Linked DNA regions of Homo sapiens: region 1 is linked to region 2. Evidence: promoter capture Hi-C in human tissues and cell types (Jung and others, 2019). All regions are on one chromosome and are shown on one strand. Each heading gives the region's core, a stretch centred on a gene start or on the middle of the fragment in contact. The rest is flanking DNA. Distances are from core to core; before and after follow the strand shown.

Region 1 (3,189 bases), core at 502-3,001, 1.4 Mb after region 2:
AACTTAATTTTTTTAGAGACAGTGTCGCTCTATCACCCAAGCTGGAGTGCAGTGGTGCAATCCTAGCTCACTTGCAGCCTCAAATTCCTGGGTTCAGGTGATCCTCCCACATCAGCCTCCCAAGAACTGGGAACTAACAGCTGTTTCTCTGCTGTCCTTCTCAAGAAAAGGGAGGCTACTGCTACCCCACTGGGGACAATGCTGGGTTTCCCTTTAGGACAGGCTCTGAGACAAGGCGGAGGTGCTGTTTGTGGCCACAGAGCAGGGGACTCTGGGTTGCAGGTGTGGCCTGGCTAAAGTAGGCTTTACTGGGCTCCTCTCTGCCTGCATCACCCCCCGGCTGGGCGGTTGTCTCTGAGGCCAACCTTACTCCCTGCTGGGCAGGCTGGACAGCTGCCCTCTCCGTTTGCCCCTCTACCACCCAAAAGGCAGGAGGCTCTGGAGACCAGGACCCTGCCCGCCACGGCCTGTGTCCCAGGCGTGAGGGGGTGCCCCACAGACCTCTGCTGAGCTGCTGCTGAATGACGCCCCTTGGGGGTCCTGCCGGAAGGTCAGAGCAGGGGTGCACTCCCATAAAGAAACGCCCCCAGGTCGGGACTCATTCCTGTGGGCGGCATCTTGTGGCCATAGCTGCTTCTCGCTGCACTAATCACAGTGCCTCTGTGGGCAGCAGGCGCTGACCACCCAGGCCTGCCCCAGACCCTCTCCTCCCTTCCGGGGCGCTGCGCTGGGACCGATGGGGGGCGCCAGGCCTGTGGACACCGCCCTGCAGGGGCCTCTCCAGCTCACTGGGGGTGGGGTGGGGGTCACACTTGGGGTCCTCAGGTCGTGCCGACCACGCGCATTCTCTGCGCTCTGCGCAGGAGCTCGCCCACCCTCTCCCCGTGCAGAGAGCCCCGCAGCTGGCTCCCCGCAGGGCTGTCCGGGTGAGTATGGCTCTGGCCACGGGCCAGTGTGGCGGGAGGGCAAACCCCAAGGCCACCTCGGCTCAGAGTCCACGGCCGGCTGTCGCCCCGCTCCAGGCGTCGGCGGGGGATCCTTTCCGCATGGGCCTGCGCCCGCGCTCGGCGCCCCCTCCACGGCCCCGCCCCGTCCATGGCCCCGTCCTTCATGGGCGAGCCCCTCCATGGCCCTGCCCCTCCGCGCCCCACCCCTCCCTCGCCCCACCTCTCACCTTCCTGCCCCGCCCCCAGCCTCCCCACCCCTCACCGGCCAGTCCCCTCCCCTATCCCGCTCCGCCCCTCAGCCGCCCCGCCCCTCAGCCGGCCTGCCTAATGTCCCCGTCCCCAGCATCGCCCCGCCCCGCCCCCGTCTCGCCCCGCCCCTCAGGCGGCCTCCCTGCTGTGCCCCGCCCCGGCCTCGCCACGCCCCTACCTCACCACGCCCCCCGCATCGCCACGCCCCCCGCATCGCCACGCCTCCCTTACCATGCAGTCCCGCCCCGTCCCTTCCTCGTCCCGCCTCGCCGCGACACTTCACACACAGCTTCGCCTCACCCCATTACAGTCTCACCACGCCCCGTCCCCTCTCCGTTGAGCCCCGCGCCTTCGCCCGGGTGGGGCGCTGCGCTGTCAGCGGCCTTGCTGTGTGAGGCAGAACCTGCGGGGGCAGGGGCGGGCTGGTTCCCTGGCCAGCCATTGGCAGAGTCCGCAGGCTAGGGCTGTCAATCATGCTGGCCGGCGTGGCCCCGCCTCCGCCGGCGCGGCCCCGCCTCCGCCGGCGCAGCGTCTGGGACGCAAGGCGCCGTGGGGGCTGCCGGGACGGGTCCAAGATGGACGGCCGCTCAGGTTCTGCTTTTACCTGCGGCCCAGAGCCCCATTCATTGCCCCGGTGCTGAGCGGCGCCGCGAGTCGGCCCGAGGCCTCCGGGGACTGCCGTGCCGGGCGGGAGACCGCCATGGCGACCCTGGAAAAGCTGATGAAGGCCTTCGAGTCCCTCAAGTCCTTCCAGCAGCAGCAGCAGCAGCAGCAGCAGCAGCAGCAGCAGCAGCAGCAGCAGCAGCAGCAACAGCCGCCACCGCCGCCGCCGCCGCCGCCGCCTCCTCAGCTTCCTCAGCCGCCGCCGCAGGCACAGCCGCTGCTGCCTCAGCCGCAGCCGCCCCCGCCGCCGCCCCCGCCGCCACCCGGCCCGGCTGTGGCTGAGGAGCCGCTGCACCGACCGTGAGTTTGGGCCCGCTGCAGCTCCCTGTCCCGGCGGGTCCCAGGCTACGGCGGGGATGGCGGTAACCCTGCAGCCTGCGGGCCGGCGACACGAACCCCCGGCCCCGCAGAGACAGAGTGACCCAGCAACCCAGAGCCCATGAGGGACACCCGCCCCCTCCTGGGGCGAGGCCTTCCCCCACTTCAGCCCCGCTCCCTCACTTGGGTCTTCCCTTGTCCTCTCGCGAGGGGAGGCAGAGCCTTGTTGGGGCCTGTCCTGAATTCACCGAGGGGAGTCACGGCCTCAGCCCTCTCGCCCTTCGCAGGATGCGAAGAGTTGGGGCGAGAACTTGTTTCTTTTTATTTGCGAGAAACCAGGGCGGGGGTTCTTTTAACTGCGTTGTGAAGAGAACTTGGAGGAGCCGAGATTTGCTCAGTGCCACTTCCCTCTTCTAGTCTGAGAGGGAAGAGGGCTGGGGGCGCGGGACACTTCGAGAGGAGGCGGGGTTTGGAGCTGGAGAGATGTGGGGGCAGTGGATGACATAATGCTTTTAGGACGCCTCGGCGGGAGTGGCGGGGCAGGGGGGGGGCGGGGAGTGAGGGCGCGTCCAATGGGAGATTTCTTTTCCTAGTGGCACTTAAAACAGCCTGAGATTTGAGGCTCTTCCTACATTGTCAGGACATTTCATTTAGTTCATGATCACGGTGGTAGTAACACGATTTTAAGCACCACCTAAGAGATCTGCTCATCTAAGCCTAAGTTGGTCTGCAGGCGTTTGAATGAGTTGTGGTTGCCAAGTAAAGTGGTGAACTTACGTGGTGATTAATGAAATTATCTTAAATATTAGGAAGAGTTGATTGAAGTTTTTTGCCTATGTGTGTTGGGAATAAAACCAACACGTTGCTGATGGGGAGGTTAATTGCCGAGGGATGAATGAGGTGTACATTTTACCAGTATTCCAGTCAGGCTTGCCAGAATACGGGGGGTCCGCAGACTCCGTGGGCATCTCAGATGTGCCAGTGAAAGGGTTTCTGTTTGCTTCATTGCTGA
Region 2 (3,616 bases), core at 868-3,367:
TCATCTCTATGTCCTGGTAACTCACTGTGCCTGAAGATGCCTCCCATGTAGACTCCTACACTCCGTTACCTTTCTTGACATCTCCTTTGCTTCTCTAAGCAGCTTCTCAAGCCTCACAACTTCCCATGCCTAGCTGCTCCAGCCCATCTTCTCTATCTTAGCAAATGGCCCCAATCAACAGCGTTCAGACCTAAAGGCTTGAGTCATTCTTGATGCCTCTTTCCTGTGTAAACCAAAAAGTGTCTGAGACAGGTCTCAATTGCTTTAGGAATTTAGCTAATGTTAAGGACATACCTAGAAGAACACGAAATTACAGAAAGAGTCTGTGGTCTGTGCCTTTCTCCAGAGATGACTGTCAGGGCTTCAATATTTAAAAGAGAAAAGTAGGTTGAAGGAGAAAGATCTACATGTTCCAAGAGAAAAGGAGCAGGTAGGGGAATAGTCAATTATGTATTCCTAGTGTGCTCAGTAAGTCGCCACTTAAAGTGAACAGAGTTCACCCGTGGAGATATTTAATCTTGTATCTGTAGGTATCTGCTTAGAAAAAAAAAAAGAAACACAAAGGTGGCCGGGCGCGGTGGCTCACACCTGTAATCCCAGCACTTTGGGTGGCCAAGGTGGGTGGATCACTTGAGGTCAGGAGTTCGACACCAGTCTGGTCAACATGGTGAAACCCTGTCTCTACTACAAATACAAAAAGTTAGCCGGGCGCGGTGGCATGCGCCTGTAATCCTAGCTGCTGGGGAGGCTGAGGCAGGAGAATCACTTGAACCCGGGAGGGGGAGGCTGCAGTGAGCCAAGATCGCGTCACCGCACTCCAGCCTGTGAGACAGAGTGAGACCCTGTCTTTAAAAAAAAAAAAAAAAAAAAAAAAGTAACGCAAAGGTAGTTTCTTGCATGATTCCGCGCTCAGCATAATTTTTTCCTTTTGGCACAGTGAAGTTGGGTCCGATTTTTTTTTTTCCTTTCACGCCTCCCATCCCCAACCCATCAGCAAGTCTCACAGGTCCTGCCTTCAGAAGCCTATCCCGAACCACGCATTTCCCTCCACCTTCACTGCTCCATCTCGGCCAAGTCACCACGCCTTTCAGGGAACTCAGGAGCAACAAGCCCCCAGTGCGGGACGAGCCACCCCAAAGCCCCTCGAGAAGTTTTCTCTAACCACAGCCCCGAAAAGCCCCGCCACTACGACCACTGGCACCCCTGCTTATTTCCTCCAGACCCTCCTCGGCCGTCCCACCCCATCAAGCCCTCCTTTCGCTCGCATCTCCACCCTCCCTGCACACTGCCTAACCCAGAAAATGGCCAAGCAGGTAAGCCCTGTCAACTCACTTCTCCTCGGGACTCGGGTGTCCCTGACTTCCACGTGTTCACGAGAAGCTCGTCAGAGACCCTGACCTCTCCCGGGAGCACAACACAGACTCGAACTGGCTAACTCGGGCTGACGCCGGTTCAGCTGACTCCCATCCTGGCAAGAGGCTTCCGGAGTGTTCCAGCGCCTCCCAGGCCTGCTGCGGCCGCCCCAGTCCACGGGCCGCGCGGAGACCAAGATAAAAGGACGCAGGGTGCCGACCTGACCGATCCCGGCACCGCGAGAGCGCGACGAGGTCCCTGGAGCCCGCGGCCTCGTCAAGGGCCCCACCGCGCCCCGACCCCCGGGTCCCGCGCCCACCTCTCGGGTCTGCGCTCGGCGCCGCGGTGCTCTGCCTCCTCGGCGTCTTCGGGCCTCCAGCGCCTGCCGTCGGCTCTGCGCTTCCGTCCCAGGCTCCATCGCGCGGGGGACGGCGGGCTGCGGGGAGGGACGCGGTCGGCTGGGCACGGGAGGTTCGGGACCGCCTTACAACCTCCGCCCTCCCACACCCCGGCCCCGCACAACCCCCGCCCCACGGGGCACGCGCTCCCTCGCCCGCCGCGCAGCCCGGCCTCACCTGGCGTCACCGTCGCAGCGGCTCTGATGCCTCGGCGGGCTTCGCGGGCGGCAGGCCATGGCAGCACGGGCCGGGCGCGCAGCGCAGGGCCGAGGCTGAGGCGGCGGCGGCGCGGGCAGAGAGCGCAGAGTAGAGCAGGGCAGGGCCTGAGGCAGAAACCCGCGTCCCCGCGCCGGCGCTCACGAGCTCTGCGCGCCCCGCCCCCAACCGCCTTTATGTGGGCGCCGGGCCCCGCCCCTCGGCCTCCCGCGCGCGCCGGGTCGGGCGAGACCATCGGGCCACGCCGCAGGGGTCCACTCAGCTGTGCGCGCCTCGCGAGCCGACTGGGGCTAGGGCGAGGCCTCGGGACCGCGGGCAGCCGCGAAGCCCGACTGCCCGGCCCTCGGCTCGGGAGCCAGATGGACGCCGTGGGCTGAGGAGAGGCCTGAGGAAAAGGTTGCCCCCACCCGCGGGATTGAGGCGGCCGGGCCGCCGCGGGCCTCTGCGACGCTGATAGGTCGCGCCTTGGCGGGCGGGGGCAGCTTTGGCGGGAGATTCGGCCGCGCGCGACGCGGCGCAGGTCGTGGGGGAAGGGTAAGCGGCACGTTTCTCGGCCTGGGTCGTGGCGCATCTCCCATTGGTTCCGGCCTGGGTGGAGCGCGGCTCTGCTTGGTTCCTGCCCAGGTGGGGGCGTGTCTCCTCCCTGGCGGGAACCCGGAACCCGGAACCCGGAAGGCGCGGCCTGTGGCGGGTACTGACTGCTTCCCACGGTCCCGTGGCCGCTGCAGGCCCCGTACGCGCCGTCTATTGTTTTGAGCCGCTTAAAGTTTTGGAGTAACCTTTTAGGTCGCAACAGTTGACAACTACACTGAGTCTTTCCGGTCCCACTGCCCTGGCCGTTGACCGCACACCGGCCACCGACTGAGCCGCTAGTTTCGGTTGCCGCTGCCTCCCTGCCCGTCCATGACGTCCTCCACTGTGTCGCCGGTGCATGACGCTCCCACCCTCTGCCTGGAGTTGACTGGGTTTGTATCCTGAAGAATCCCTGGCTCAGCAGGTAGGTTCCACCTGGAGGCGAGGTCCTGTAGATCCGCACCATCCCGTCCCGCTTCCCCGCCGTCACAGTTGCAGCTGACGGCCCCGCGGATCCAGCCAACTAGAACCCCAACGGGTGCACTACACCTGAGAACAGGTTCCCACAGCTTCCTGTTGGGGACAACGTGAGGGATGCAGGGGAGAGTGGAACCAGCCAAAAGAGTGGGCAGTGGGGTCAGGTCCAGGAGGCTGAGCCCCAGGGATGCTTGGGATCCCTCTAAGGCCTTACACCTCTGGGAGGGCCGGACTTTTGCACCTGCTGCCCTCAGGACTGTGCCTTGGTGCGTCCACCGCCCCCTTTTGAACTCAAAAAAGTCATCCTCAGACTAGGACGGACACATCCTGTCCCCTTCCTCCCCAGGCCCTGGGCATCCCATAACCCTCAACACTGTAAACTAAAAATAAAATCCTGGCAGGGCGCGGTGGCTCATGCCTGTAATTCCAACACTTTGGGAGGCCGAGGCGGGAGGATCATCTGAGGTTGGGAGTTCGAGACTAGCCTGACCAACATGGAGAAACCCTGTCTCTACTAAAAATACAAAATTAGCCTGGCATGGTGACGCATGCTTGTAATCCCAGCTACTCGGGTGGCTGAGGCAGGAGAATTGTTTGAA

What was found. Contacts are between HindIII fragments. The study calls those that stand out against the background at their distance.
Region 1: a contact is called between the fragment with the promoter of HTT here and the fragment with the promoter of SLBP in region 2, in 1 of the 25 tissues and cell types used here (lymphoblastoid cells).

Annotation. Positions count from the first base shown.
Region 1 is chr4:3,072,930-3,076,118 of GRCh38, forward strand. HTT (huntingtin) reads left to right here and starts at 1,752. Exons shown (of 67, transcript NM_001388492.1): 1 at 1,752-2,159. The coding sequence starts at 1,897. It also overlaps HTT-AS. RefSeq lists silencers at 808-1,427, 1,578-2,017, 2,128-2,197 and enhancers at 2,358-2,587, 2,598-2,647. The HindIII fragment of the contact is 13,196 bases long and covers 1-3,189 here.
Region 2 is chr4:1,710,202-1,713,817 of GRCh38, forward strand. SLBP (stem-loop histone mRNA binding protein) reads right to left here and starts at 2,118. Exons shown (of 8, transcript NM_006527.4): 1 at 1,929-2,118; 2 at 1,673-1,789. The coding sequence starts at 1,987. RefSeq lists silencers at 1,495-1,614, 1,625-2,534 and an enhancer at 2,665-2,954. The HindIII fragment of the contact is 8,102 bases long and covers 1-3,346 here.